Regions from separate parts of the Homo sapiens genome. Here regions 1, 2, 3 and 5 are each linked to region 4. Evidence: promoter capture Hi-C in 16 types of primary human blood cells and fetal thymus (Javierre and others, 2016). All regions are on one chromosome and are shown on one strand. Each heading gives the region's core, a stretch centred on a gene start or on the middle of the fragment in contact. The rest is flanking DNA. Distances are from core to core; before and after follow the strand shown.

The links. The method cuts DNA at HindIII sites, captures the fragments that hold promoters and counts their contacts. A CHiCAGO score of 5 or more calls a contact.
Region 1: a contact is called between a fragment that was not itself captured here and the fragment with the promoter of RARS1 in region 4, in 1 of 17 cell types (total B cells). The highest score is 5.5, in total B cells.
Region 2: a fragment that was not itself captured here is called in contact with the fragment with the promoter of RARS1 in region 4 in 3 of 17 cell types (naive CD8 T cells, total B cells and total CD8 T cells); the score reaches 11.2 in naive CD8 T cells.
Region 3: a fragment that was not itself captured here is called in contact with the fragment with the promoter of RARS1 in region 4 in 2 of 17 cell types (total B cells and naive B cells); the score reaches 9.8 in total B cells.
Region 5: a contact is called between a fragment that was not itself captured here and the fragment with the promoter of RARS1 in region 4, in 1 of 17 cell types (naive CD8 T cells). The highest score is 5.3, in naive CD8 T cells.

The regions. Positions count from the first base shown.
Region 1 is chr5:163,988,975-163,992,976 of GRCh38, reverse strand. No RefSeq gene overlaps it. Among named protein-coding and RNA genes, the nearest start is that of LINC03000, 310 kb to the left of the region's middle. The HindIII fragment of the contact is 2,066 bases long and covers 640-2,705 here.
Region 2 is chr5:163,519,443-163,523,708 of GRCh38, reverse strand. No RefSeq gene overlaps it. Among named protein-coding and RNA genes, the nearest start is that of MAT2B, 16 kb to the right of the region's middle. The HindIII fragment of the contact is 9,934 bases long and covers 1-4,266 here.
Region 3 is chr5:164,010,552-164,014,703 of GRCh38, reverse strand. No RefSeq gene overlaps it. Among named protein-coding and RNA genes, the nearest start is that of LINC03000, 280 kb to the left of the region's middle. The HindIII fragment of the contact is 1,625 bases long and covers 1,976-3,600 here.
Region 4 is chr5:168,485,098-168,489,462 of GRCh38, reverse strand. RARS1 (arginyl-tRNA synthetase 1) reads right to left here and starts at 2,992. Exons shown (of 15, transcript NM_002887.4): 1 at 2,920-2,992; 2 at 727-861. The coding sequence starts at 2,964. The HindIII fragment of the contact is 3,317 bases long and covers 1,717-4,365 here.
Region 5 is chr5:172,963,733-172,968,165 of GRCh38, reverse strand. The region is part of intron 2 of RPL26L1 (ribosomal protein L26 like 1); the gene reads right to left. Among named protein-coding and RNA genes, the nearest start is that of RPL26L1, 6.5 kb to the right of the region's middle. The HindIII fragment of the contact is 9,586 bases long and covers 1-4,433 here.

The DNA.
Region 1 (4,002 bases), core at 423-2,922, 4.5 Mb after region 4:
CCCTACCTGAACTACTGATCCACAAACTTGCAAGGATAGCAAATGTTTGTTTATACCACTAAGTTTTAGGGCTGTAGTTACACAGCCATAGATAACCTACTACTACTACTATATCACCACACATTCAAACATTTTTCAGCCTTTTTAAGATATTTACGTATATTTTTGTAGGTAGCTAAAGTTCCTCCAGTAGTAATTGCTATATAAGGTTATTTGTTTAAAAACAGTTGTACTTCAGCTGAATTAGAATGGGTTTTGCTATCATACTGACAGCTACAAACTGTCTCTGTGATCTAGGGCAAGTAACATTAACTCCTCTGTACTTTATTTTATTTATTTTTTAAAGGGAATAATATAAACCATTTCATGGGACTCCATGGGAATTTAATAACATAAAATGCAAAAGATGTTTTTTCACAGTTTCTAACACATCATAGGTACTTAACTAATAGTGGCCCTTTGGAATGATAATATTAATATATTTTCACTTTCATTACTGTCCTTCATAAAAGCCAGATGTGCACAAATACCTAAAGGAACTATTTCTGACACAGTAAAAAAGTAGTTTGCATTTAAAGGAGTAAAATCTGTTCAGATATTACATTATTTTATCTGCTTTCAGTCCATTTCGAATAAGCTTAAGAAGTCTTGTCAGTCATCCCAAGAATGCCTGTTTATCCTACCAGGAAGAGATCTTAACATTTGAAGTTACCCCATCCTTACTTGAAACATTTGTGAAAAAAGATCTTCACATATATGAGGAAAAAGTAAACAAATATAAATTATAGGAATTTAACCTGCCACGATGTAATAAAAAGAGAAAAATTGTGGGGGAAGGGGGGAAGAATCTCACAAATATTTCAATCAAATTAGCATCTAACATAAGTTAGACAGGACTGAGAAGATAATTACCTGCCTAGAAAAACAATTAAATGAAGGTTTTTGTCTTTTTGTCTTCTTCTTTCTTTTTTTTTTTTCTTAAACAACATATGCTGCTGTTAGAAAGAAATGATGGAAGCACTTCTTCTGATAATATGATATTTTAAGAGTTACTTTTTGGGGAATATACCTCTAAATATAAAAACATGAATGCTTGGTGTGAAGGTAAAGTTATGCATAATCAAATGCAGCTGGGCAGCCAAGTCCATCCTCACACAGGCAATTCATTTCACTAGACCTTGATTGGATATTATTATTTTACCTGTTCATAATAAAGTGGTTCTTTGAAGCAAGTATTATATTCCAACAGTTCCTTCTGTTTTATTGGAAAAGCAGGATCTGTGAATCCTTTCTTGATAACTGTAGGCTGTTCATCTCAACTGATTATTCATTTTACTGGAGTCCTTCTTCAAGAGGGTGTCAAGGACTTTTATTTTTGTCATAGAAACACTAATTTGCATTTGAAAGATGGGAAGTTGGGAATAAAGTCTTCAACTAATTATAATCAGTGACTACATCTCTGTGCCAAAGCCTGTGCACGGTCACAAAGGATCGAAGAAGAGTAATGTACGTTTTACTCCTCTTTGTGTTTTCATCAAAATCATAGAGATTTTTTACTACTCTCTTCCACATCTCATTTTTCATCATTTCCTATCTTTGTATTATATGTGAAACATGCTTGGCCATTCAAATAGTCAATATTCTAATTCTTTCTCTTACAATTAAGTGTTCTCTTCTTCCCCTCCTTCAACTTTCTTTGTTGTTTTAATTTTCTAATTGTGAGAAAAAGCACAGAATAAAATATGAATGTGAGGAAAATAAGAAGTGAGTATATTTTCTAATTTATATTTCAACAAAAAGTGAGAAAGATATATTACTGAATATCTCTAAAGAAACCATAGTTTAGTATAGGTAATTAGTATTTGAAGTCACAATTAGCTTTTATATGTATTATATCTTTGAAGGAAATCTATATTTCATATGTGGTATTGCTAACAGATAAAGCAGTCTGTGAAATATCAAAATAAAATTACCAAAGCAAGTCACCTATAAACATGAAAAAAATAAAACTAAAAATAATGAAGAAAAATAACAACAATAAACAAAAGCCATGCACTCTCTAGTAGAACAAGAGAGTTGAGTGCATAGTGGTAATAAAAACTTATTATGAAAAAAGTGATTGTAACAAAATAGGTTCAAATTTCAAAGGGAAAGGATAGGGAGAAAAAAATTATGACAGAGAAAGGAATGAATTCATATAAAGTAAGACTTGATGAAGCAGCTCATGTTTAAAAGAAAAAAATTTTTAATCACAAATATTTATTTAATCACACCATCTTGAACTCAACCCAGAACCTCGATTTTATATATTAATAGCATATAGAGAAACATTCTGAGCCATGGAATAGATTTAAATTTTGACATTCTTAAAGAGCAAAGAATAGGTGCAATGTGATCTTTTCATTAAATTACAAGATCAAAACAAAACAAAGTTTAAATGAATTTCCAAATGTGGAAATTGGTACCATTTTAGGGTTGATTTCGCCTAACAGATTATCCATCAATGTATCTGCATATATTTTTATCAGAAATGTATTAAAAGAGACTTTGAATCCAATATTTGATAATGCTGGTAAAATACACTTTAGCTATGGTATCTGCTCTGTAAATACGAAAATACCATTCAACCAGCATTTTCAGGTCACAGGTGCCTCTAACTGTGACTATTCAATTATTATAAAATAAACTTGAGCCAATTCTAAGCTTGTATGTTTTACAGTCTAATTTTCATTAAATTAAATTTTAAAAGATTTTTGCCTCTCGATATTCTAGTTTCATAAAGAGTCACACTAAACACCTATAAGCAAAATAACAAGTACAAAAAAAGAGACATATTCAGGCACTGATTGATTTCTTATCTTCAGAATGAGATTGGCAAAGCCAAGAGCCAATGAATGAATGAGAGAACTATTGCTCTAATATATACTTCAACTATTACCCTTGGAAATGGCAACGAAACTAATAATAGCAAGCAATAACAATAATGAATCTTATTAGTTTTTCATGATGATGATGACGATGATAATGATGATGATGATCATGATTACCCTAGGTTGGAAATAAGATTACAAGAAAGAATATTGTGCAAGATGTTCTCTAAAATTATACATAGAATATGTTCTCTTCCATATGTGCAACATTTCTTTCAGACAATGTACAAGGTAGTAGCTATTCTTTGATGCATAATAACCAGAAAGATAATTCCAACAACTCCCATTAAATTGTGGTTATAGTTACAATGGCAGTGGGTACTAAAAGCAGCATATATACATTCTTTTCTCATATCTGCGATATTATTTATCATCTGTAAATCTGAGAAATCCTCTTGCCCCCAGCCCAGAGAGAAATTATCTAATGTCTGCAAATGAATTAAGCCATTGGATTTTTCAAGGTAAAACCAAGTATGCTTAATTTTTATCCTACAAGTTGGGTTTATATCAAAAGCACCTAATTTTTAAATGCCCTGATGTGTAATAATATTGCTCATTTTATGCCATTACATTTGTTTAAAAATAGTAATCCTATATTTTTAATAAAACTAATGTCAACCATGCAGTTGCCTAATTGTGATAACTTCATAAAACAGCAGGTGGTTTTAGGTCATTGTTGTTCCAAGACACTGTTAGAAATATTGATAAAAGTTTATGTTTCAGTAGCATTAAGCTACTATCTTCCAACAGAACCTGTACTGTGCATGATTATAGCAGTCATTAATATTATGAAACTGTAGTCCATCACCCCCCCCCACACGCGCGCGCACACACACACACACACACACACACACACACACACATCTTCTTTCAAAATAGAGAATGGATAATGAAGAAAGAAAGCTGACTTTAACAGTTTGGGTAATTAATGACTATTGTGCCACCTAATTCTTGGTGAATATTTACCCTATAATTTAAAATCTCTTCTTGTTAAATGCAACCATTTAATGTAATTAATTATGGTTTTCCTCATAATCTTATATGAATTTCCTCCCGCCATCCATCCTCCACT
Region 2 (4,266 bases), core at 6-2,505, 5.0 Mb after region 4:
GCCAGAACCATCATCCCTCTTTCAACTTTCCAAGGACCTTATGTGTTCTAAGCACATAAAGCCTGGGGGTGACGCTGTATAAGGAAAATAAAAAATTATTTCCAGCCCTCCTATATGCCAAAGTGTTTGATTTATCTTGAATAATTTTTAGCATCTCACATTAAAACATTTTAAAGGCCATATATCAATTTTTCATTTCAAAGGGAATATTTTTTAAATCTATAACAAACTGGGGGGAAATTGAAATTGTTCAATAATATGTAGCATGTATATATGTCAAAAATTAGAATTGAAATGGGGACCATGGAAAGCAAAGTAACTGTAGACACAGCTGGGAAATTTCATGGCCATCTTTCAATGTAAATCACTTGCAAGTAAATACATGAAGTGAATGTATTCAATTTCCAGAGATACATTTATATGTATATAAATTCAAGTATTCTGGCTATTTCTGTAGCAAAATACAGAAAAGAACTTTCAGAAGTCCTTAGGTAAAACAAGTTACAAAAATAATTTTCTTTGAAATATTTTTAAATGCATTTACAAAATACTAAAATTAAGTCTAGAAAATACTTAAAAATCACAAAGAAAAACCACTGGTAATCTTATTTATGAGAGAAAACTCCTAATATCTTACAGCTGAAAGTGAAGGTAATATTACAAGACCACCATTTCTCCCCCATACCCCAACCCTTAGGCATTTGTTAAGTCCACAGCTACATGTGCTAGTATCTCTGTTCCAAGTATTTCCACGACAGACCTGTGAAATAGGTGGTATTCTTTTCATTTAACCCTAAAAATTACTTCAAGCTCCGAAAGGAAAAGCAACTTGCTACTAGCAAGTGGAAAAATCACGTTTGAATCTAGAGTTGTTTCTTTGCACTATACATAATACTTCCTTCAAGTAAAAAAAATATCTTGACTAGCCTACCCTTGAATTAAAACCTACTGCACAAAAAAAATTACAAAAAAGCCTACTGCTATATTTAATGTTGATGAGATGATTTGGCTGCCAAAAGGGTATAATTAGCTTATATTCCAGTACAGATACCTAACTTACAATGGGGTTACATCCTGATGAATCCTTCATAAATTTAAAATATCCTGAGTCAAAAATGCATTTAATACACATAAACCTACTGAATATCACAGCTTAGCCTAGCCTACCTTAAATATGCTCAGAACACTTACATTAGCCTACAGTTGGGCAACATCTAACACAAAGCCTATCTTATAGCAAAGTGTTAAATATCTTCTGTAATTTATTAAATACTATACTGAAAGTGAAAAACGGAATGGTTGTATGAGTACTTGAAGTATGGTTTCTATTGAATGTGATTACTTTCACACCATTGCAGTCAAAAAATCTGCTGAACCATTGTAAGTCAGGGACCATCTATACACCAACAAATTGTGATTTCCCTCATTGATACAATGGAATAAATGCAGCCAAAAAAAGAACTAGTTCCTTCTCTTTGGTGCTCTGCTGGTACATAGTGGCACATGTGATTCTTGGTGCAGTGCTCCATGGGTCGGGAGGATCCTTGACCAGGTACAGTGGTCCCTGCAGTCACTGGCATCAGGGCCAGGTCACATGGGTCTGGGAATGCTCAGCTGGCTTGGAGGCCTATGTAAAGTGGAGAACAGAGGAAGGCTTGGCTAGTGTCATCAGAATGATTCTTATGGATGAATGAAGCAAATGAATAAATAGAATAATGAGGGCTGAGGCTGGGCGCAGTGGCTCACGCCTGTAACCCCAGCACTTTGGGAGGCCAAGGCGGGCTGATCACGAGGTCAGGAGATCGAGATCATCCTGGCTAACACGGTGAAACGTCATCTCTACTAAAAATACAAAAAAAAAAAATTAGCTGGGTGTGGTGGCGGGTGCCTGTGGTCCCAGCCACTTGGGAGGCTGAGGCAGGAGAATGGCATGAACCTGGGAGGCAGAGCTTGCAGTGAGCTGAGATCATGCCACTGCACCTCCAGCCTGGATGACAGAGAGAGACTCCATCTCAAAAAAAAAAAAAAAAAAAAATTCGAGCTGAGCACTGTGGCTCATGTCTGTAGTCCCAGCACTTTGGGAGACCAAGGTGAGTGGATCGCTTGAGCTCAAGACTTTGAGAGCAGCCTAGGCAACATAGTGAAACTAAAAATACAAAAATTAGCTGGGTATGGTGGTACATGCCTGTAGTCCCAGCTACTCAGGAGGCTGAGGTGGGAGAATCACTTGAACCCAGGAGGTGGAGGCTGCAGTGAGCTGAGATTGTGCCACTGCACTCCAGCCTGGGTGAGAGTGACACCCTGTCTCAAAAAAAAGAACTGAGAATTCGGTTGCTGTCAGAGAAAGGTGCCACAAACATGGGAAGAGCCAAAATAAACCCTGTGGAACAAGACTGTAACTGGAGCTATCGATGTCAACTTATGGTTTCTTATACAGAGAAATGTCAAAAATATCAAGCTCATGAAAGACAAACACTGAGGAACTGTTCCATATTGAAGCTAAAGCAACATGGCGACACACACAAGTAATCTTGGACTGCATAGACCTATAAAGGAAACTGGAACAACTGATGAAATCTGAATGGGATCTTATGAAATTGAATGGTAATTTCTTGATTGTGATTATATTACAGGGTATATAGGCATGTATCCTTATTTTTAGAAAATATACACTGAGGTTTATATACTAAGTGGGTGATGAAGCATCGTATCTTCAACCTACTCTTCAATAGTTCAGGAAATAAAAATAGTATACATATGTAGTGTGCATGAAAATGATAGGGTAAATGTGCTAAATGCTGACAACTGGGGAATCTGGAAAGGGAAATACAGGCATTATTTATGCTATCATGGCAAATAATGAAATTTTTAAATGAAGATTTTTAAAAAGGACATTTTTGGCCAGGCACGGTGGCTCATACCTGTAATCCCAGCACTTTGGGAGACTGAGGTGCGCAGCTCACGAGGTCAGGAGATCGAGACCATCCTGGCCAACATGGTGAAACCCCATCTCTACTAAACATACAAAAATTAGCTGGGTGTAGTGGCGCTGCCTATAATCCTAGCTACTTGGGAGGCTGAGGCAGGAGAATCGCTTGAACCAGGGAGTCGGAGGTTGCAGCGAGCCGAGATCACACCGCTGCACTCCAGCCTGACAACAGCGCAAGACTCCGTCTCAAAAAAAAAAAAAAAAAAAAAAAAGGACATTATTTATATTATACAACAAATTCCAAATGAAAAAAAGGTCAGAGAATTGTATGTTATTCTTTGTGAGGGCGGATGGTGAGAGTATGGACACGTGAGTTTTTTGATTATATTCTTCTATATGCAGAGTGCCTCTAGAAACATATGCAAGGAACTGATCTACATCCATTTCTTCCACAGTTGAAAAACGGGTGGCTAGAGAATAACAACACTTTTTACTCTCCGAAACTTAATTATGCACTATATGAAATGTAGTAACTTAAAATATAAAACAAAATGCTTTAATTTAGTGGTTGCCAAATGCAATGCCAGACTGGCAACCTTAGAACCACCTGGGAAACATTTAAAAATAAATTAATAGGCCTCAATTCCCAAAATTTATTTCAGTAAGCCCAGGGTAGGACTCAGGTATCAGTAAAATTTCCCCAGTTAATTTCCTCAGCCTACTCAACATGAAGATAAGAATAAAGAACTTGATTATGATCCAGGCCAGGTGCAGTGGCTCACGCCTGTAGTGCCAGCACTTTGGGAGGCCGAGGAGGGTGGACTGCTTGAGGGCAGGAGTTTGAGACCAGCCTAGCCAACATGACAAAACCTCATTTCTACTAAAAATACAAAACTCAGCTGGGCGTGGTGGCGGGTGCCTGTAATCCCAGCTACTCGAGTGGCTGAGGGAGGAGAATTGCTTGAACCCAGGAGGCGGAGGTTGCAGTGAGCTGAGAATGCACCACTGTACCCCAGCCTATGCGACAGAGCGAGACCTTGTCTAAAAAAAAAAAAAAAAAACTTTATGATAATCTACTTCCACTTAATGAATAGTAAATATATTTTCCCTTCCTTGAGATTTTCTTAATAATATTTTCTTTTCTCTAGGCTACTTTAAGAATACAGTATGTAATACACAGAAGATAGAAATATGTTAAATGACTATGTTTATCAGTAAGGCTTCTGGTCAACAGCAGGTTTTTACTAATTAAGTATTTGGGGAGTCCAGAGTTATAGTGGATTTTAGACTGTGCAAGGTTGATACCCCAAACCCACACCGTTCAAGGGTCAACTGTA
Region 3 (4,152 bases), core at 1,539-4,038, 4.5 Mb after region 4:
ACAGTATTAGTTGAAAGAGAAACCAAACCTCAGCCAGCACACAGGACCAATGTATCCCAGTTGGGCATCTATCTACATTTTAGCAGATATCACTTTGTTATAAATTTTCTCATCTGTAAAATGGGGACAAGGGTATTTCTACATAAGTTGTTGGGAAGATTAAATAAGTAAAATGTTAAGAACAATGCAGTACACATAGTGAATGCTCAATAAGCCTTAACTATTCTATTGGATATAATTGTGCCTGTGTGAAGGTCATGTGGTTTGATAGACTGTGCAGCCTCCAAATCCCAGAGTTCATAATTTCTGAAGTGGCTAGAACTTTACTGTTCAATAAAGAAGCTAGTGGACACATTTGGCTATTTACATTTAAATGTAAATAAATTTAAATTACATAAAAACGTAAAATCCAGTTCCTCAATCACACTGGCCACATTTGAAGTGCTCAGTAACCACAAATGGCTAGTGATTATCTTATTGGGCAGCACAAATATGGAAGGCTTTTATTATCACAGAAAACTCTTTTGCATAGCACGTTCAATAAACGCCCCAGTGTCAAGGAATATTGTAAGGTTTTTAGAGAGCTGGAGAAAGCTTAATATACTCGCAAAATCATACATACATGGCAGTCATAGCTCTTTCATGGTAAATTTAAAAACCATAATAGATTTGAAATCAAATAAGCATGGCATCATTAACTCTGTGCTGAATATATAGTTGGGCTTCCAGGTTTCTGATGTTGTGATGAAAACAATTTGTTTTGACCTTCACCTTCTGTGGACAGCCAATCCAAAATGATTATCCTTCTTGTGGTAATGACATCATTTTCTCATAATCTTAAAACTCTGGCTTAGATCAAGTAGGTAAGAAAAGAGGGCACTTATAATTCAGGTCATGTTCACATTATCAGGGATGAACAATATGCTTTAATATCCTGAGTCTAACATATCGCTTAACTTACTCTAACATTTTTCTTTCTGTTCTAACCACATATTCTCCATTCTAGCCCCAGTGAAAGTGCAGAATTTATACCAAGGCCATCAGCACAAGGAGTTCAAAATGTACTCTCAAGCAAGAATGACAAGCATGTCACCACTCCAATATTCCATACCCACAGCCAATATTGCTAATCAATCCATAACATTCTCTCCATTGTCTTGGATGCGGCCTCAGAATCCTTCTCAACACAAGACTCCAGGTAGCACCCATCAAACAATTAATATTTCCATTCGAATACGGACAATGACAAGTAGTTGTCATTTCTGGGTCAAAGAATGTTTACTAGATAGAAAGAATCAAAGAAACAGGGGAAAGTCAGTTTTCCCATTTAAACAATGCTACTTTCCTTAAGGCACAATCAGGGTTTCGCTTCGCCTCCCTTTTTTAGTATAAGAGAAATGCTCTTTAACCAAGAATTCAGTGGAGCAACAGTGCCACCCAATGGCTGGTTAGATTAGTTTTGCATTTAACTGTTACCATCTTAAGAGAGAAACTGTCTTTCACTCATAAAAATGGGAGCTGGAATTGACTATTAACTGTTTAAGCTGCTATTCCCGTTTTCCTGAATGATAGTTACAGAAAAAGTAGGGGGAGTTCTGAGAAATGGGAATTGTCTTGAAACAAAAATCTCAGCACGTTTCTGTTATCAAACAGCTCAACAAGAAGAAAGGTTCCAAGTGAATTTACAAATGAACAGGACAGATTTTTCACTTCTTATATATAAAGGGGTAGAATGGGCAAGTTTCCCCACCCACCTCCTTGCCCCAGAGGTGAGCGTGGTTCTTTCTTTCCTATTTTCTAATAAATCACTGTGCTAAACGTCCCCTACTAGAAACATTAGAGTAGGTATATATATTGCAGCATTTTATATGCAAAAAAAGAGTGTAGAGGCTATGACAAGTGTTATAAATAGAAGTATTATTTAGTTTAAAGGGAAGCAGAATTTACATTTCCCAAATCGGAGACCACTCAAGCTTTGAGATTCAAGTAAGCAAAATAAATCTGAGCTTTTTGCACTGTGAAATCGAAGTTCTAACTCTATTAATAGAAGAGGTGAGTAATAGATTTTCCTGGTCTGATGGTGGTGGGATTTTATTACCCAATCTTCGTGATCTGCATAGTTCATCAGCCACTTTTCCAACGTGAGGTGACAGGGAGTCCCCAGGCACTAAGGCTGCATGTTGCTAAGTGCTGGGTTTTTCTCTCCCTTGGAGGGACTTATTTGAAGTTCTGGAGACATCCTCACAGGACTTAAGCCCAAGGAAAGCAAAAAGCCTGCTCTTCCTTTTAACTTCCAATCAATCAAAATGTTCACAGAATATATTTAAAAAAAAAAAACACGTTGATATTCTTTAAAAAAATTCCAGCAAACAGAATGAGTTGGTGCTAGGTTGATCTGATAATTTTTAATGTATAAAGAAGTTACACACAAATATTTATTACTGTTTACTAGGGATTGCTATGATTAATGACTTTTGAAAAAAATCAAATTTCCAATCTGCTGTTAATTTATGGTCAAAGGGCTTTTGCCCAGAACTTTTTAACTCAACCTTTGTCCTCTGGTTATTTTGGTGAGATGAACTGTGTTTTGCTGATAAATATGATTGATTGAAAAAAGACTCTGGCCTTTAAAGAGAAACTAGCAGGCTGAACAGAGGCACACAGCAAATATTTTATGCAAAAGCCAAAAATACAGTGCTAGTGAATCTGAGAAGAATATTCAATTAACTTCAGGTTTCTTCATTGAGTCAGTAGGTAGGAAGTTCAATTATAAGAAGTTTCATGGGTTATTTTAGTATTTTTTAAATAATTGTAATTTATTCTTACAGTGATGAGATTGTATGAAGTAGTTCAATGAGAGGCAAGAAGATGTGAAGCGTACATGGGCAAAATTTTAGATCAGCGGACCTGTGAATGAATCCTAGTACAGCCAGAAATGATCCATGTGAATTTGTGTAAATTACTTAACATCTATGAGCTTCAATTCCCCAGCCTGTTAAATGGAACACCAATAGCACAAACCCATAATATCATTATGAGGATTAATGAGCATGGTGTATGGTGAGAGAAGACAGAATATTCAGAGGGAATGTCTCAAGTCAGCAATGGAACTGGAGTAACAGGAGATGAAAGGAGAAAGGAAGATTTGCAATCCAATAATGATAATTATTTTGGAATACTGACACATCCTTAGGCTTAATGTAAGTGGCCAGAGACTATAAACTAATAGGTCCGTACAGCCAGTGGTGGTCTTGCAGATATGTCTTGTTAGATGACAGTGCTTAACTTTGGAATGTGTTTACTTGGAAGAGGGTCCTATATTTGCCATTTGCCACCAATGGTCCCATCATTTTCTACTGTGCTCAACCCATCTGGATTCTCTCATTTCTATCTCTCTGGTCTCTCCTGGCTTTGGACTTTTTGACCTGTGTTTGGCAAATAAAAGAAAATAACTGTTCGAAATGAGTCCTGAGATTTCAAATGATCAATTATGTGGCAGAATTCATGTTATACTCCCTAAATTGACTGGCAGAGAGGTTTCAGCTTACATGCCAGCTCTCTTGATTGGCGGCAACTGCCCCAAATGTGTGTTACGAAGCTTCTGAGGCTGCTGCCAAGTTCAGTGTTCTAGAGGGCAAGAGATAGCTGTCCTATGTCCTACTTCACTTGTCCTCAGAATGCAATCCACTGAGCATAAGCAACATATTATTTGATTTTTTCCTATGCCATTTAATATGGTAGTCACCAGCCACATGTGGCTACTAAGCATGAGAAATGTGACTAGTCCAAGTTGAAATATACTGTAAGTATAATATGCACACCAGCTTTCAAAGGTTTGCTACAAAACATAGAGTGTAAAAATCTCATTAATAATTTTTAATATTGACTATGTGGTAAAAAGGTAATATTTCTGATATATTGTGCTAAATACAATATAAAAATTTACCTTAAAAAACTTTTTAATGCAGCTGCTAGAAAAATTCGAACTTACATATGTGCCTCAAATTATATTTCTGTTGAATATTATTATATATTATATATCTTAATATATAATATAATGATGTAGTAATAGTAAAAATAGTTACTGGCCTTCATATATTATTTGTGCAATTTTTATTGAACTACAGACCCCGCCAAAGTATTATTTGGGTC
Region 4 (4,365 bases), core at 1,743-4,242:
TAAAATAACCAACTTAGGGCAGAGAAAATATGCAGGTGTATTTTCAAATATTTCCTTTATGATAGAGGCAATGATTTAAAAATCAAACATGTTTTTTTAAAAAAGGCATGGGCATAAACTGTTGAAAGAAATGCCTCAACCTTGCTGGGTGCAGTAGGTTATACTTGTAATTCCAACACTTTGGGAGGCCAAGACAGGGAGGGTTGCTTGAAGCCAGGAATTCCGAGGCCAGCCTGGCCAACACAGCAAGACCCCATCTCTATTAAAAAAAAAAAATTAGCTGGATGTGGTGGCACACGCCTGTAGTCCCAGCCACTCAGGAGGCTGTGGTGGGATGACTGCTTGAGCCTGAAGGTTGAGGCTGTACTGAGCCGTGATGATGCCACCACACTCTGGCCTGAGTGACAGACACCCTGTCTCAAAAAATAATAAATAAATTTTTAAAAAGAAATGCCTCAACCCTACCTAAATCCTACTTTAAGTTAGCCAAACAGTTAGCAGGATGAAACATTTCAAAGAGTCCTGAAGGACAGGACAACACCAACTTGTCACTATTTGCACCAACTACCTCAGTCCTAAGTTGTCTAATGCAGGGAAAAGAATAGGGTTTCTATGCTTCTTTTCCAAATTCCATAGGATATACTTCCAGAATCTTTGGTAACAAAGGCTTTAAAAAAGCTATAATGATTCAAACTGGAGAATAAAACTGGAACCCAAAGTACTCACCTTTCGAAGAATATTCAGTCGATACTTTAATTTTAAATTTTCTTCTTGTAACTGCTCCAAATTTGGAGAAGCTCCTAAACAGCCACAGTTTTTCAACCGGTCAATTTCAGCAGTCAGAGATTTAATCTCTTCTTCCTGTGGGAAAAAAAGCACTTTTTTCAGTCCATAAACTTACTTCCACATTTCCCCTCTCTACCAAGGCGTGGCATAGACCATGGGAATCATTAATGTTCCCTTTGATGAGCTGTGTTTCTTTCTCCTCTGAGATTTTTGCTGACGTTAGCATATTATCCTTAATAAGAAAATATTGGCCAGGCATGGTGGCTCACGCCTGTAATCCCAGCACTTTGGGAGGCCTAGGCAGGTGGATGACTTGAGGCCAAGAGTTCAAGACCAGCATGGCAAACATAGCGAAACGCTGTCTCTACTAAAAATACAAAAATTAGCTAGGCATGGTGGCGCATGCCTGTAATCCTAGCTACTTGGGAGGCTGAGGCAGGAGAATTGCCTGAATCCCAGAGGCTGAGGTTGCGGTGAGTCGAGATCGTGCCACTGCACTCCAGTCTGCTTGACAGAGCGAGACTCTGTTTCAAAAAAAAAGAAAAAGAAAAAGAATATATTAACCACACATACATGTGTTTTGGGAGACAGGAATCGGAGTAAGTATATAATGGGATATGCCTCATGTCTCATATCCCTAGTTCTTTTCTTTGGCTCGATAAACACTCTGATTTAGCAAGAGTAGTTAAGTTTCAGGTTGACCAACCTGCTTTTATTCCCAAATCCTATGACCTGGGACTCTTAAAAAACCCAAATGTCCTTTGTCACATTCAAAATAGCTCAAGGGTCTGCCTTTCACCCTTTCTGGGACTAAACAATTTTCCCATTTCTTCCTGTTTCCAGTGTCTTAGGTCCTAGACTAGACCAGACCAGGCTTTGTAGTTTAACATCTAAAACTAAAGACATGTCAATTCAGAAAGAAATAAAGCTTCCAACTTAAACTGCAAAACTCAGGGGGAGTTCCTCACCTGAAATTTCAGAATACTTACTGGGAGATAGCTACAGCCAAAACCAAATTGCCAAAAATGAGCATACATTATGTTCCAGGAGCTGAGCTAAAAACACTTTTCAGAAATTACCTTCATGATTATCACAACCAAGTGAGGCAAAGATAAATACATACCGATAAATAAATGGCTCAGAAATGTAAAGAGCTTGCCAATTTACTTGACTAACTTGTACTTTGTGACTGCTGATTAAGTATACAGCCGTAACAGGACAGAGTACTGTGAACTATCTTCCTACCATCCCTCCCCACCTGGGCATAAAAGGTAATGGAACTGTTCCGCTTTCACTTTTTTTTTTTGTAGGGGGACGGAGTCTCACTCTGTCGCCCAGGCTGTGGTGCAGTGGTGTGCTCTCTGCTCACTGCAAGCTCCGCCTCCCGGGTTCACGCCATTCTCCTGCCTCAGCCTCCCGAGTAGCTAGGAATACAGGGACCCCCCCCAACACAGCCGGTTAAGTTTTTTTGTATTTTCAGTAGAGACGGAGTTTCACTGTGTTAGCCAGGATGGTCTCGATCTCCTGACATCGTGATCCGCCCACCTCGGCCTCCCAAAGTGCTGGGATTACAGGCATGAGCCACCGCGCCCGGCCGCTTTCACTTTTATATGGTGTGGCTGCTCCTTCCCGACGAATGCTGAGGGCACAGAGCAAGCTCCGCTGGTCTGATAATGAATCACCCCATGGGCTTATTAGGAATCCTCTCGCTCAGTAACCCGGGAAGAACTGCGGCTGAGCTGCAAACCAAGACCCAGAGCTCTGAATGTATTCCCCCCTTGTCTATCTCCCCGCATCCCCTAAATCGCGTGTGTATGCAGAAGAGGAGGTGGATTGTAGGGAGAGAACTGTTCTGAACATGCCAGGCTCCAGCCCACCGAAGACGCTGGTTTGGGGGAGGCCTGGGAGAGGGTGGGGACCCTCCATTCCGCTGAAAATCACAGTCACACGGGCTTTGAAATGATGGGTGCTTCCTCTCTCAACCCTTCCTGTTCCCACAGGGACCGTGCCGCTCCACTCTGAGAGGACCAGGATGGTCCTCGCCTAGCTGTCCCGCCCCCGAAGCCGCTTGGGCAGGAGTCAGAGCCTGCTCCATCTCTTTCAGGCCTTCCCGCCGGTCTCCTGCGTCCAAACCTGCTGCAGCAGCCGCGCGGAGCACTCAGACACCAGTACGTCCATCCTCCCATCAGCGTCTCACTCGCCAAGTGGACGGAAGCGGAAACGGTCAGCCTCTCCCGGAAGCGGAAACCCCCTCCGGTCCGCTGTCCCGTCGGACTGGGTGCTGGCGCCTCTGCTGCCTCCTGGCGGGATCCAGTAGACACTGCGAGGAGAACCCGCGGGGATTTCGGTCAGGAGCGAGGCCGCAACTCAGGGACGTTTGGGCGAGGGGAGAGGAATTGAGCAGACACTAACCAGAGCTGCTCTGTGCTTGGATAGACTAGGACAGTCACTGACCTAGAGCTTCTGGCTCTCAAAGGCCTCACTTTGCCCCTTTGTGAAATGGGCACAAAACTAACAAATCCATTCATTTATTCAACAAACATTTATTGTGTACTTTAAAATGCCAGACAGTATTCTAGGCTCTGGGGGCACAAAGAAAACAAAACAGACACGATCTCCCCTCTCACGGCAGACACATTTTAGAATGGAGAGAGAAAATAGACCAAAAAAGGCAATAATCTCAGGTAGTTTTAATTGCTAGGAAGGCAATGTGATAGAGTGACTTGGGTGAGAGAAGACATCTCTAAGCAAGTGACATTTGAGTTAAAATCTTATTTATTTTTCCAGTTTTATTGAGGTATAATTGACAAAGATTGTATATCATAACGATGTACAACGTAATGTTTTGATATATGTATACATTCTGAAATGATTACCACAACCAAAATAATTAACATAACCTTCATCTCATACAGTTATCATTTGCATGTGTGTGTGTGTGTGTGTGTGCGCGCGCGCGCGCGCGCGTGTGTGCTGTGAACATTTAAGATCTATTCTCATCCTGGGAAACAGCTAAGACCTCGTCTCTACAAAAAAATGGAAAAATAGCCGGGCATGGTGGCATGTGCCTGTAGTCCCTGGTATATAGGAGGCTGAGGTGGGAGGATCACTTGAGCCCAAGAATTTGAGGCTGCGGTGAGCCATGATCATGCCACTGTACTCTGCCTGGATGACAGAGTGAGACCTTTTCTCTCTCTATTTAAAAACAAACAAAACGAAACGAAAACGAAAACTGCAAGTATACAATATACATTACATCTCTAGAATCTATTCATCCCGCCTAACTGAAACTTTGTAACTTTGAGCAACATCTCCCATCTTTCCTACCTCTGAAGCCCTGACAACCACCATTCTATGCTCTGCTTCTATGAATCTGAATTTTTTAGATTACACATATACATGGGCTAATGTAGTATTTGTCTTTCTGTGCCCGGCTTATTGCACCAACATAATGTTCTCCAGGTTCATCTATGTTGTCACCCATAACAGGGTTTTCTTTTATAAGGCTGAATAATATTTCATTGTATATATATTGAGTTAAAATTATAAACAGCAAACCTGGGATATATGTTCTAAGAG
Region 5 (4,433 bases), core at 218-2,717, 4.5 Mb before region 4:
AAGTATCCCTTATTCGAAATGCTTGAGACCAGAAGTGTTTTGGATTTAGGGTTTTTGGGATTTTGGAATATCTGCATTACTAGCTAAGCACCCCAAATCTGAAAATCTGAAATCCCAAAAGCTCCAAAGAACACTTCCTTTGACCATCACGTTGACAAAGTCTCAGATTTTGGAGCATTCTGAATTTGAGATACTCAAACTATATGAGTGTATGTGTGTGTGTATATATATAATATATATTACATATGTGCGTATATGTATTTATATGTCATATATACATACACGTATCATATACATACACATATGTACTTATATGTAACATACATATATGTCATACATACATATATGTACTTATATGTCATATATACATATATGTGTATACATACGTATATATGTGTATATATGTATATATACACACACATTTCATATATATAGCATGACACAGTGGGATAAAATATATATATAAATATTGGTAACAGCTGCCATTAGGCAGGAAGCAGGATTACAGATGACTGATTTTTAGATTTATATTCTTCTAAATTTCAACATTTCTACATTTAATACAAATATTTTAAAGTCAGAAAAAAAATTTTAAATCTCACAGACTGTTTTACTGTACTAAAAATCTACTCTATTCAAAAACCAACTAGATTAGGGTTTCCTTGAAAGCAAGAGCTTATTTATTTATTTATTTATTTTTGACACGGAGTCTCGCTCTGTTCCCCCAGGCTGGAGGGCACTGGCATGATCTTGGCTCACTGCAACCTCCACCTCCCAGGTTCAAGTGATTCTCCTGCCTCAGCCTCCCAAGTAGCTGGGATTATAGGCACGCACCAGCAGGCCTGGCTAATTTTTGTATTTTTAGTAGAGACCAGGTTTCGCCATATTGGCCAGGCTGGTCTCGAACTCCTGACCTCAAGTGATCTGCCTGCCTCGGCCTCCCAAAGTGCTGGGATTACAGGTGTGAGCCACCATGCCCAGCCACAAGAGCTTATTAAACACCATGCATGGGGGCCGGGCACGGTGGTTCACACCTGTAATCCCAGCACTTTGGGAGGCCAAAGCCGGTGGATCATGAGGTCAAGAGATCGAGACCATCCAGGCCAACATGGTGAAACCCTGTCTCTACTAAAAATACAAAAATTAGCTGGGCGTGGTGGTGGGCGCCTGTAGACCCAGCTACTCGGGGGGCTGAGGCAGGAGAATCACTTGAACCTGGAAGGCGGAGGTTGCAGTGAGCTGAGATGGTGCCACTGCACTCCAGGCTGGCGACAGAGCGAGACACCGCCTCAAAAAAAAAAAACCACCAGGTACGATGTGACTCTGATTAATAAGCATAGAGGAGATACCACATATAAAGAACTAGAGAACCCCAATACTCCTAAAATGTCTACGTATAGCTTGTTTGGCTTATTTTCCAAGGCGATTTTTAGGTTGAAGAGGACAATCATATCTCAGTGAAAAATCTACCACAGACTACATGACCAGAGACTCTCAGGACACACCTGGAAGAAGTCTTGTTAATACCATCAAGACTGAAGAAATACACACATACACACTTTTTTTAAGAGACAGGGTTTCACTATGCTGCCCAGGCTGGTCTCAAACACCTGAGCTCAAGAGATCCACCCACCTTGGCCTTCCAAAGTGCTGGGATTACATGTGTGAGCCACTGCACCTGGCCAAGACTGAAGAAAGATCTTAGGCCGGGCATGGTGGCTCACAGCTGTAATCCTGGTACTTTAGGAAGCTCAGGCAGGTGGACTGCTTGAGTCCAGGAGTTGGAGACCAGCCGAGGCAACATAGCAAGACCCCGTCTCTACAAAAAAAAAAAAAAAAAAAAAAAAAAAAATAGTTAGCCAGACATGGTGGCATGCGCCTATGATCCCAGCTACTCGGGAGGCTGAGGTGGGAGGATCACTTGAACCCAGGAGGTTGAGTCTGCAGCAACCTGTTTTTGCACCACTGTACTCCAGCCTGGGTGACAGAGTGAGATCCTGTCTCAAAATAAAATAAAATAAAAAATTAATTTAAAAAATTTTTAAAAAGAGAAGTGGACAACCTCTGGACATAGTGAAGAGGAAGACAGGAGACAGGATAAGACTAAGTCGGCTGGTCGACTAGACTGGAGAGGTGAGGATGAAGAGGGAAGGATGATACTCAGAGTCTGGCTTGGGCAACCAGGTGGATGGCAATGCCATTGCCAGATGCAGAGATCATAGGGGAAGCCCCGTATTTTAGGAGGAAATAGTTTAGTTTGGAACATGCTAAATTTGAAGCATCTGGGGACATTCTAACAGAGAATTCAGACACAGCTGGAATGCCAACTGGGCCAGCAATAGAGACGTGGGAGTCATCCACAGAGAGGCAATTAGGAGCTTCATGTTGCTCAAGGAGTGATGGTATGAGAAAAGGGCAGAATGTACACATGTGAGAAAAGCCAGCATTTTGGAAGAGCTTGTGAGAGATTAATGTGGCCAGAGCGAATGGGAAATCATGCAAGTGTGGTGTTACAGCAGCCAAGAGAATGTCAAATTCTGTGGGACTGTCAAGAACACAGAGGATAAGGTATTTAACAGATCTGACAACAAGGTCATCAACAGTGGCTGTGGCTGGAATGCCTTCACTGAGTGCTGGGATGGAGGCCATTAACAGTAAAGTGATGAGTGTACCAGGTGAGAAGGTGAAGGTGAGAAAAGACAGTCCAAAGGAGCTTGGCTCTGAAGATGAGAAGGGGATAGATGTTTGAGGGGGATGGAAAGCTAAGGGAACTTTCCTTTATTTTTTATTTTTAAAGAAGGGAAAACATGATTGTGTTTAAATGCTGATGGAAGGAACAAGTATGGAGGAAGACGGTAAAAGAAACTACAGAGAAAGAAGATAAGGGACCAAAAAAGCTCCAAGAGAAGAATGGAGCAGCACCCAGTGGCAGATGGATTAGGCTTAGGCAGAAACAGGGATATTTCTTTCTTTTTTTTTTGAGACAGAGACTTGCTGTGTTACCCATGCTGGAGTGCAGTGGCGTGATCTTGGCTCACCACAACCTCCGCCTTCTGGGTTCAAGTGATATCTCATTGCCTCAGCCTCCCTTGTAGCTGGGATTACAGGCATGTGCCATCACGCCCAGCTAATCTTTATATTTTTAGTGCAGACGGAATTTCGCCATGTTGGCCAGGCTGGTCTCGAACTCCTGGCCTCAAGCGATCCACCTGTCTTGGCCTCTCAGAGTGTTGAGATTACAGGCGTGAGCCACTGCACCAGGCCTGGGATATTTCTTTCATTGTAACAGAAGGGAAAGAAAATAAGAGGGGTGGAACTACAGGTAAACGTGTAGGTGTGGAGCCACGATTTCTGAAAGTTCCTGGCTGATAACTTCAATTTTCTCTGTAAAGTAGGAGGAACCATCACCTACTCAGAGAAAGAGGAAGGTAAGTGAGATTCAGAAGATCCCGTGAGAGGAGGCAATATTAACAAACCCAATCAGGGCTATTTTATTCTCCTGGTGGAGAAGTGTTCAGCCAGCATGGCCTTTGGCTGAAACAATTCATACCTCTTAGGCATTCAAAAAATGGCAACAGGCAGCCGGGCGTGGTGGCTCACGCCTGTAATCCCAGCACTTGGGGAGGCTGAGGCGGGTGGATCACCTGAGGTCAGGAGTTCGAGACCAGACTGACCAACATGGTAAAACCCCGTCTCTATTAAAAATATGAAAATTAGCCAGGCATGGTGGTGTGTGCCTGTAATCTCAGCTACTTGGGAGGCTGAGGGAGGAGAATGGCTTGAACCCGGGAGGCAGAGGTTGCAGTGAGCCGAGATTGTGCCACTGCACTCCAGCCTGGGCAACAAGAGTGAAACTCTGTCTCAAAAAAAAAAAAAAAAAAAAAGGCAACAGGCCAGACACTGTGGCTCATGCCTGTAATCCCAGCACTTTGGGAGGCCAAGGCAGAAGGATTGCTTGAAGCCAGGAGTTTGAGACCAGCCTGGGCAGCAAAGCAATACCTATTTTTAAATAAATAAATAAATAAATAAATGTCTCTAATTTAAAATATATATATATTTAACAGCAGCTCCTTCTCCCTCTTTGCCCTCCTTCTCTGTCTCACCTTCTACATCTTACCTACTCAAAAAATTTTTTTCATTCATTCAACAAATATTGACTGACCCTTCTCCTCTCTAAGTGTCAGGCTCTGCACTGAGGTCAGACAACAAACAAGATGAACTCTCTGGTTTCATGGAGCTTAGCCTGATGGCCAGTAAGCAGTTAATGAGTACATAGACAAATACATGACCACTAACTGGAATAAGTCACATAGGAACTTACTGGGATGATTAAAAATGGTCTTTTTAATGGTCTAATCATAATTAGGGTAATGGCTATTTGGTTTTACATTTGCCAAAACTGACCTGTGCATTTTACTGTGTGTAAATTATGC